Regions from separate parts of the Homo sapiens genome. Here region 2 is linked to region 1. The links are contacts of gene promoters, found by promoter capture Hi-C in blood cells and fetal thymus (Javierre and others, 2016). All regions are on one chromosome and are shown on one strand. The core of a region is centred on a gene start or on the middle of the fragment in contact, and the rest is flanking DNA. Distances in the headings are between cores, read along the strand shown. Region 1 holds the start of CLYBL-AS2 (CLYBL antisense RNA 2). Region 2 overlaps PCCA (propionyl-CoA carboxylase subunit alpha).

The links. The method cuts DNA at HindIII sites, captures the fragments that hold promoters and counts their contacts. A CHiCAGO score of 5 or more calls a contact.
Region 2: a fragment that was not itself captured here is called in contact with the fragment with the promoter of CLYBL-AS2 in region 1 in 2 of 17 cell types (megakaryocytes and naive CD8 T cells); the score reaches 7.3 in megakaryocytes.

The regions. Positions count from the first base shown.
Region 1 is chr13:99,688,002-99,693,299 of GRCh38, reverse strand. CLYBL-AS2 (CLYBL antisense RNA 2) reads left to right here and starts at 2,329. Exons shown (of 2, transcript NR_046526.1): 1 at 2,329-2,747; 2 at 2,944-3,202. All of the region lies in intron 1 of CLYBL (citramalyl-CoA lyase), which reads right to left. LOC124903199 (a long non-coding RNA gene) reads right to left here. Exons shown (of 2, transcript XR_007063848.1): 2 at 2,931-4,686. RefSeq lists an enhancer at 393-1,150 and a silencer at 2,191-2,485. The HindIII fragment of the contact is 1,922 bases long and covers 2,085-4,006 here.
Region 2 is chr13:100,230,424-100,235,721 of GRCh38, reverse strand. All of the region lies in intron 7 of PCCA (propionyl-CoA carboxylase subunit alpha), which reads right to left. Among named protein-coding and RNA genes, the nearest start is that of PCCA, 140 kb to the right of the region's middle. The HindIII fragment of the contact is 1,762 bases long and covers 1,899-3,660 here.

The DNA of each region.
Region 1 (5,298 bases), core at 1,080-3,579:
TGTGCCTTGGTGAGTGCTGGACTGTGGGGGATACAAAGATGAAGAAGGATAATCCCTGTCTCAAGAAACTTAAAACCTAATGGAGGAGACAGATCTAATGATAATGAATATAAGATGCTTCATAATTAGTTTCATAACACAGGCACAAAACGCTATACATCCCAGTTCCTCAAAATGTTAAACATAGTTACCATAAGACCCAGCAATTCCACTCCTAGCTATATACCCAACAAAAATGAAAACGTATGTCCAACCAAAAACTTGTACACAAATGTTCATAGTGAAATTATAATGGCCATAAAGTGGATATCCCCCAAAAAATATCCATCATTGGAATGGATAATGGGGTATATTCCTACAATTGAACATTACTGGGCCAGAAAAAGGAATGAAGTACTAATGCATGCTACAACATGGACAAACCTTGAAAACATTATGCAGAGTGAAGGAAGCCAGAGATAAAAGGGCATATTTATATAGTCCCATTTATAGGAAATGTCCCGAACAGACAAATCTATAGATTTAGAAAGTAGATTAGTGGTTGTCAGGAGAAAGGAAGAGGGGTGCATAGGGAGTGAACCCCAATGGGTATGGGGTTTCTTTTAGGGTAAGGAAAATGTTCTAGAATTAGATAGTGATGATCATTACACAACTTTGTGAAGAGACTGAAAACCACTGACGTGTGTCCTTTAAAAATGTGAACTTTATGGCTGGAGGCGGTAGCTCACACCTGTAATCCCAGCACTTTGGGAGGGTGAGGCGGGTGGATCATAAGGTCAGGAGATCAAGACCATCCTGGCTAACATGGTGAAACCCCGTCTCTACTAAAAGTTCAAAAAAATTAACCGGGCGTGATGGCGGGTGCCTGTAGTCTCAGCTACTAGGGAGGCTGAGGCCGGGGAATGGCGTGAACCCGGGAGGCGGAGCTTGCAGTGAGCCGAGATCATGCCACTGCACTCCAGCCTGGGTGACTGAGCAAGACTGTCTCAAAAAAACAAACAAAAAAAAAAAAACAAAAAAAACAAATGTGAACTTTATGAGAGCTGAACTATGTCTCAATAAAGCGACAATTTTTAAATGCAATGGGAGGTCAGTGTGGGGAGTAATTGTGACTAAGGGGCAGGGCTGGCATATGTAATGCGTCTGCTGGCATTAAGCACAACTTGTGGATTCTAAGCACTTTCTTAAAATGAAAGAATGAGTGAAGAAAACAAATCACTGGATTTACTGTTCACTTCCAGGCTATCATATCCATCCTGGCTATGAAGGATGTACACTGAGTTTCTACGTTCTGAAACTGTTATTACTTAGGCACAGTCCACAGAAAGATCAGTCTGAAAACTCAGGGACCGGGAGCTCCGTGCAACATGGCTTTCAAGATCCTAGAAACTCTCGCTCTGTGTTCCCACCACCCTGGGCTGTTTCTTCATCCCATGGGTCCTTCTGTATTTATTTGTCCTTTGCACTGTGATGATTTGGAGGCAGTGACTACGCCTTTTATCTCTGTATCCCTAGAACCAGCAGCACATAGAAGGGACTTGCCAGGTGACTGCGGAAGAAGGGAGGAAGTCGCTATTAGCTTATGAGGAGCTTATAGTCTAAGTTTCAAGCTTTCTCATTTCTCCATTTTCTTATCACGTACAGTGATTACACTAAAAATACTCTGGTACCCTAGTGCTGGTTTTTTGTTTTTTGTTTTTTGGTTTTTTTTTTAGGTCAAAATGGGTCACACAGTGGCAATTTCATATGACTCAATCTAACACAAAGTCACTAGAAAGAATGTCTTTCGGGTCCCATTTCATGATACAAAATGGTTTTTAAACGTCGTTCCCTGAAGATCCTTTGGGGAGCACCAACAGAGAGATAATGGGGAGTGATTCTGATCCCCAACTGTCCCCTTCCCCCCCAAATTTTTAGAGTTTCTATGTAAGAGTTGGTTTGAACAAAAGACTTGTGTCTAAAAATTAGTTTGTAACTAATTTATTTATAGTATTTATAACTCTAGATAACTTAGATATTGATTAAGAAAATATCCCCCAAAACATGTTCTTTAGATCAAGGAAATAAAAAGTAATGCTTAAGCTTTTTGTTTCAGTTCATTGGAAAGCTACAGTGCTTACACATTTTTATGCTGTCTACCATCAGTGCATCTAGGGAAGGGCATCTATGGATGAGGCTACCATGTGGGAAATTCTTGAGTGGGCAGTGAGAGAGGGTTAGCAACTCAAAGCAAGTAATCCAAGGGTTAATCAGGAGAGACACTCAATCCAGAAAGTGCTCATTAACCCAAGCCTTTCTGCATAGTGTCCCTACCACCCTGCTGCCTCTAACTAAACAAAACACGGTAGGTCTCAGTGTGAGAGAGCGCTTTTGTTCACATAGGAGGCTGACAGCTATTTGCGATGAGGGGTTTTTGTTTGTTTGTTTGTTATTCAAATAACTTTTTTCCCCCTGAGGAAACTGAAAGGGAAAATGTCAGAAGTATGTGATTAATGATTTTTTAAAATAGATGGGATCTCCCCGGTTGAATTGAAAAGTAGGTACTGAAAAAGAATCCATTTCTAAATGGTAGATTTTCATATGTAAGTTTGATATTAATTCTTTCAAAAGAGTTGTGCCTGTGAGTCAGATAAATGACAGGAAGGTCTGTCTAAATACCAGCATCCTCGGAAGGGCAGCTGTTCAGAAACATTCTCAAATCATGAAGATAAATAGAACCGGAACACTGATGATTCCATCAACTGATGGTGAGGGAAACATCCAATTCTATCTTAACCTCCAAGCTGTGCGGTATTACGGTGCTTCCTAAAATGCTTTTAAATAAATACACAAAAAAGCCCGTGTTTGCTGGGGATGGGGGAAGTTGGTGATTGGGTTTGGGGGGCACAGGGAAGAGAAGTAGAGAGGAAAAACATACACCAAAATCTATGTTCCTTTTTTAAGGTTCCTTTTAATCAGATCTTAAAGCAAAGACAGAAGCTGAAAACATTTCTAGTAAATAAAAAGCAAAGAACTCTGAATGCTTAGCCGACCAGAACCCCGGAAGGAGCCCGCCTGGTACTGCCAGGCATGACTGCCTTTAGTGGATTTAACAATAAAAAAGAAGATGGCGCCAAATGACCAAACTACATGCGACTTTCCCTTCCCGCAAGAAAAGTGAATAAAACTTTCCACTGGGGCTGGGGGAGGAGGCAAGGGACCAGTCCAGAGAGATAAAATGCTACTTAACAAAACAATGTGGATAGCATTTAGGCCACATGTAAATTTCATCCACAGAGCTTGCAAATGGCATGCAATTTACTGCTCAGAGGATGTAACCTATTTGAGTCTAGAGAGCTAATTAATAACACAGTCTAAAAAGAACGCAGAGTTAATCGCCATCCATCTCCTGGGCTATTTTAACTTGTTTTTTTGACAGTTGCTGTTAAACAAAATTCTAAATATTGTTATAGCAGTCAGTTATTAGTTACCTTAACAAGATGCAAGTTTGGTGTTGGTCAAAGTTAAATCCTTTTAAAAAAAATACTTGAAAAAGTTGAAGCTGCTCTCCTCTTTAGAGCTTGTTCTGTGATGGATAAAAATTGCATCTATAAAGGTTTCAAGTCAGGTCACATTTAGAAAGTAATAGTAAATAACAGTAACTGGTAAACACAGTCCTAAGTCTTACTTGCAATTGCTCAAGTTGAAACAATTGAATACAGTCTTCAAAAATCATACTCTCATTTACAGATATGACTGGGCACATGGGATTTCAATCATGCTCCTTCATTGCTGAGAATCATGGAATTAAAATGGTAATAATTTTTACCTCTCACTTTTCTCTTGCCTTTTTCTTCCTTTAAGCATACCTGCACTAAGTAATTTTTGCTTTTCACTGATAACAAGAGAAGTTAGAGCCAGATTATTTTCTCTGGGACAACCTGTCTGTGATTGCAAGAATATAGTTCAAAACATCCTACAACTGGTATATGTGTAGCCCACCCTAAATCCTGTCTCCCCTGAAGCTTGCTGAAGGAAAGCGTGATGCCTCTCCATTCTGACCTGGTATGTATGCTTCTGGAATCCTGAAGCTGAGAATGAACTATATCCACTTTGCAGTAATGAAGCTTAAAATGTCAAAGATTCTGTAAGAGATTTTTGAGTGGAGGAAGATACTTGATGAATTTATGTGAAGTCCCAAGGGCTAGATGCTGGGACCCTAGATTCCAGCCAGAGTGTACTTACTAAGGACAGGAGGGGTGATGCTTGGGGTGTGAGGCCGGTTTTATTGAGAGTCCTTCCAAAACTGAGTGGGCAGACCTGGAAAACGCAGGTTTCACCTTGGCCTCAGTCCCAAAGGTGCATCTGTACCACTAGCTTTTGTCAGGATGAATGACGGTGCTGAGTAATTTCAGGAAAGCAACTCATCTGCCCAAATATGACTGCCAAAATATTCAGAATAATGTAGCTTAGCACTTCAATGTAAATTTTACTTTCTGACTTCACAAATAAGGAAGAAGTTGCCTTTTGGACGCTCTATCTTTTGCACTGGCTTTAATACCCAGGAACGGCCACTGTCAGATCCTCCATTCCATGCAGGAGCTGGAAGAGATATAAGGAATGTATTTCTTCTCTCTCTCTTCATGTCACCACCCTCTCATTTCCAGTTCACTTGTTATTCTTAAAGAGTAATGCCAAGTTTGTACACTAAAAAAAAAAAAAGAATCGGACTAAAGAAAAGCCAAATAAGTAATATAATTAGTAAATATGCTAATTCAGATTAAAATATAAGTCTTTAAAAAGTTCAACTTGTTATATGTAAAATTATTTTAATGACATATTGGAGAAAAATCTGGCATTATGCTGCCAAGAAGGCAATACATTTAAGGCAATCTTACAAAGTATATGAAATCACAGACTGTAATATCCTGCAACTATTTTAATTTTAAAAGCTCAGTTTACAAATATATACTAATATTTTTCTCACTTTTAATCGCTCCCCCACTGTTTTAGCATAAGAGCTAAAATAACCTAAAACGGCCCCTAAAACACACACAGCGAGTCTGTTACACAGATCTGGAAACCAAAAAAAAATGTATGAAGGAAGGAATTTTCAATAATCTGAAACAGAGTAGCAAAAAATGTGTGTGGTTTCTAGGTTTTCACTACTAATAAAAATTTTTCCTGGGAAAAATTTTACTTTAAAGCAACTCTAAATGAAAATGCATATAATTAAGGGAAAGACCGTTGCTTCAAACAGATTGACTGTCTTTAACAAGTTTCTCTCTTTCTAGCTACTCAGATATGCTATATTTCCTA
Region 2 (5,298 bases), core at 1,530-4,029, 540 kb before region 1:
TTCTAACCCTTTTCATTCAGAGAAATGTAAAATTAATACCATAAGTGGAATGTAAATTCTACCTCATCATTATTATATTAAGAAACTCAAAGCAGTTGAAATGAGCTGGCAGGAAGCACTACCAGAATTGCCAATGATTTGGTGCAGTTGCCGGAATTTAATGGCAGAATTTAGATGTTTACAATCAATACTGAATCATAAATCAGGTCATTAAAGCTTGTCCGCAGCCAGCTTGTTTCTGTCCAATATTATGTGTCATGTTTTCCTAGATTCTGTCAGCAGGGGGAGTTGATTCTCTATTGTTTGGGAGTAGTTGATCGATTTTGCAGAAATATGAAAGTTAATTTCCAGTACCTACAGGAATTACGAATTGTTCCAAAAAATCCTTTTGGTAATCTGCATTACCTTTTCTTTTCTATTGTTTCTTTCTTTTTTTTTTTTTTCAGGTACATATTTTATCTCTACAATTGTATCTTGTTACATAAATTAAAAAAAAACTTTAATTTCAACGAACCAACTACTGGAGGAAAAAACTCCAAAAAGCAAAAGAAAGAAAATACCTTCCTAAACAGTAAGGGGTAAAAGTTTATCCATTTAAGGATTAGTTATTGCTAAATATTAACCAATGCCACTTCTACCTCTAAGAAGATGAAAAGACAAAAACTTCCCTTGAATCTAAGTAATTTCACTGATCATTAACCCTCACCTAACACATCCAACACAGGACACTGCTGAATCATTTCCCCAAATAACAATAAAGATAATGTTGAAATCTAAGCCTCCTTCGTGTGTGTGGGTATGTGTGGGGTGTGTGTGTGTGTGTGTGTGTTTGTGTAATTCAGTGACACAAACTAAACTACCACAAAGACTGACAATATTGTTTTGAAACCACAGCTGGTAAGTGTGACTGAATTTTTAGAAAATGACTAAAATGCTGAAGTGAAGCCCAGTGTTTTTTAAGCTTTTAAGCTAATACGTTTAAAATGTAGAGCAACCATGTCAGAATCCTCCGAGAAGGGGGCGGGGGGGGATGTTTATAACTGGTTCACTTATGTCTAATAAAAAAAAATCTTCTTTAAAGTTCTTCAGTACCTAATAACATCCCCTGAATAAGGAGGTTGGCAGGGGAAGTTGTCAGAAAAATTTAATTTCCTTTCATTAGCCAGTCTGCTCCACAAATAGGTGCTTGTTAAGTTCAAAGGGGTCCTGAAAGCGACATCAGTTTTAAGTTGTTTTTTTTTTTTTTTACTCCAAGCAGTCACATCTGCTAATGAGATTTTCCAAATAACAATTGTTTTCAAGTCAGAGATAAATCTATATCTCCCACCCTATGCCTTCCAAAATCAAGGTTTACTGCTTTATTACACGTTGCTGTTTTCGCTGACCCTACATTCTCCAAACTTTAGCTTAAAGGGATGAAAATCCATGAAAAGGGTCATTTAAGAATGTTAGTGGTTTCCACACATTGAGTTGGAAGGTTCTTTGTTCCAGCCAGTGACAGTTATTGGAGAATACTTCCCCTTAATAGCCTCTCTGTCAGGAAGTGTTAAACCTGCCAAATGCGAACAATTAGTGCCTCTTGAACAAAATACAGGAAGAGTGATGGCTGATGAAGACTGGATTATAATAAACCTAGAAGAAAACTTTTAACATTTCTTTCCAACGTGATGAGAGAAAATAAACTGCTATTGTAAAAAGTTCATCACTTGAGAGAACTAACAGGCAAGTTTTAAAAGGTAATTCAAAAATTCATTAGACATATTTTGTCACTTATTTGAATATACATGTTATAGCTGGGTGTGTATGGATACATAAAGCCATATCTATATCTGACACAGCAAATTAAAAATTCCACTGCCACAAATCCAACACTTCTATAGCATGCCACAAAGCAAGCTTATCTTTCAACTTAACAGCATGCTAAGTCTTCTTACTATGAAAATTAGATTCTTCTAAATGAACTTTCAAATAAAATCAAGCTGCCTTAAAAATTAACTTTTCACTTGTCACTCATTCATCCAAAAATACTTTACTGAGGACCTATTATGCACTGGACATTAAAATCTCTATTACTGTTTCAATAATAAACTACTAAATATTATACACTCAGCCCCAATATGGTCTTTGAGAACATGAAGTTTTATTATCAGGCTCTACAAAATTACTTTTGAAGAGATAAAAAGCCCTATATAGCTCCAAATTCAATGGCACTAAGTGACATCACACTGTAAAGGTTGCCTATAACATCATAAGTTTAAAAAACTTTAATCAAACTCTGAATCAACTAAAAAAAGGACCAACAATCATCACAAAAGATTAAATTAAAAGCTCACAGAAAAACAGTTCCAGAAGCACAATATCTGTGCTCAGCCTTGCTCCTAATTACAGAAATACAAATTAAAACAATGAGATCTCACTTTTCCTCTAGCAAATTAAAATCTGATAATGGCCAGGATGACAAAGTTAAATACTTCTCATATTACTGGTGTCATAGAAAATGGGATAATCTTTTTAAAAAGAAATTGTCAGTATCTACCAAAAGTTTGAGGACACGTTATCTTTTGTTCTGAAATTTTACTCCTGGGAAGTCATCCTACAGATATACCCACATGAGTGAACACAGAGAGACATACAAAGAAATTCATTATTTTGAATTCGTTGGTGGTGTTTTAATAAGAAAAAAATTCTGAAAAACAATTTAGTAAGCCTTCAACAAAGGACTGGTACATCCATAAAATGAAATATTAGCCTTTAAAAAGAATGCAGTTGATCTATATGTTCTTATTCAACCACTTATACATTAATTCAATAACTATCTGCCCAGCAACACTACATGAAATACATCTTCTGCCTTCATGGAGCTTATTACAAACTAATGAGAGAAACAGAAAATAAACAAATCAATTGATAACTAAAATAAATGTTACATAGAAACAGAGTACTCAGGCAAGAATACTAGGGAGAACTTGTTTCAGACAGGCTGCTCAGAAAGGGCCCTTCTGGAGTAAAATTTTAAACCTAAGGATAAAGACATCTAGCCAGGCCAAGCACAGTGGCTCACACCTGTAATCCCAGCACTTTGGGAGGCCAAGATGGGAGGATCACTTGAGGGTAGGAGTTTGAGACTAGCCTGGGCAACATGGCAAGATCTCTATCTCTACAAAAAAATACAAAAATTACTGGGTGTGGTGGTGGGACCTGTAGTCCCAGCTACTTGGGAGGCTGAGGCAGGAGGATTGCATGAGCCCAGGAGGTCAGAGCTGCAGTGAGCCATGATGGCGCCACTGCACTCCTGCCTGGGAAATAAAGTGAGACTCCGTCTCTAAAACCACACACACACACACACACACACACACACACACACACACACGCATACACACACACACATAAACATAAACAGCTAGCTACCATGGAAAGATCAGGGAGAAAGAACATTAGACAGAGGGAACCACACATATAAAAATCCTAGATGAGGAAGCAATTTCATAGGGAAAGAATATCAGGCAGCTAAAGCTGAAACACAGTAAGGAAGTGGCAGCAAAGCACAAGATAAGGAGGTATGGACGGCGTGGCCCTGTTCTGGCCAGATCTTATGGGATTTGGTACACAGTCCAAGATGCCTTGGTTCTATACAAGGCAATGACAAATGACAATTAAGCTTTAAGAGAGTAACTCTTACACTGTAAAAATAAGCAAAATAAAGTATATACTGGGGGCGGGGGTAGCAAGTTGGAGTACATAGCGTATGACCTTACCTACATTAAGACAGAAATACACATTTGAACGCACAGGAAAGTTTAAGCATTAGACAGCTACAGAAACCAATTTACTGCTCAAAAGTAGGACAGACAGCCGGGCATGGTAACTCAGGCCTATAATCCCAGCTACTCAGGAGGCCCAGGCAGGAAGACCACTTGAGCCCAGGAGTTCTGTACTGACTTAAGCAACATCGCAAGACCTTGTCTATATTTAAGAATAAATAAATAAATAAATGTAAAAGGTAGGATTAAAAGTTGTAGGAAAAGGGAAATTAAAATTGTATGCTCTTAGGTACACGTTGAACTTTTTTACCATAAGAATCATAATTTCATACTTCATATTTTCATAGTTTAAAAATTAAATCAGCCATGCCTGAAGTTATCAAATTATTAATGATTTTGAGAATATTAAATGTTATCAAAACAAACTAGGAGTCCCCAAAATCACTTAAGCTTTTCATGACATCCCATTGCCTCAAAACCAAGTTTGAACTCCCTAGGCTGGTTTCAATACTTGATCCTGTCCGCCTAAGCATGAGTCTCAGCCCCACCCCTGTTCATCTTGCATCTTACCCTGCAGCCCAAGGCCCAGGCAGGCTCCCCAGCCTTGCACAGCCTTCTCAGTTCAGCCAGCCTCAGCCAGTAACTCTCTCCCCTTTTACCAAACCAGCTTTTATTACAATAGGCCCAATTCTGGGCCCTGAAGACACGGGACGGAACAAGAAAGACATCATCTTGGCCAACAGGTAATTTACAGGCTGGTGGAAAAGACAAACCTTAAATACAGCCACACAGCAGCTAAGGAATGATTATGTGGTGCATGTTATGTACAAGTTTTAAAGAGGGCATGTGACAACAGGGGATCTCTAATCCAAAAATAGATTCCTGAAAACTTTCTCAGGCGTGGTAACTGAAAAGACACCTTAGAAATAGAAGCGTAGTGAAAAACAGTGTCTGGGACCTGAAGAGAGAGGCGAGGGGAAGGCTGGGCCTCACAGCCACATGAGAGAAACTGAACTGTAGCCTCAGAGCAAGGAAATGAAGGGCTAGCTCTGGTTGCAGGCTGGAGAATTCTGGCATAGCATCTGCTTACTTATGATGTGCACTGTCCACCCTCTGCACCTCCCTAGCCCATTAAAATGTAAGCTCCATAAGGACAGAAACCCTTGTCCAGCTGGTTCAAGTTAGGTATTTCAAATCCCGAGCACACGCCTGGCACAGTTGTTATTCAACCAACAGTTGTTGGAAGAATAAATGAATGAATGAACAAACAAATGAACACTTTGAGAGGCAAGAGGGATCTGAAGAGTCAGGCTGGGAGGCAGTAGTCTGGGTGACAGGAAAATGACCATTTCCTCCCAGAGTCCAGGGTGGCATGCTTCCAGTTTCAGCTAATGCCACGTTCTTTCTTTTTTTTTTTTTTTGAGATGGGAGTCTGTCACTCAGGCTGGAGTGCAGTGGCACGACCTCGGCTCACTGCAACCTTTGCCTCCTGGGTTCAAGTAGTTCTCTTGCCTTAGCCTCCTGAGTAGCTGGGACT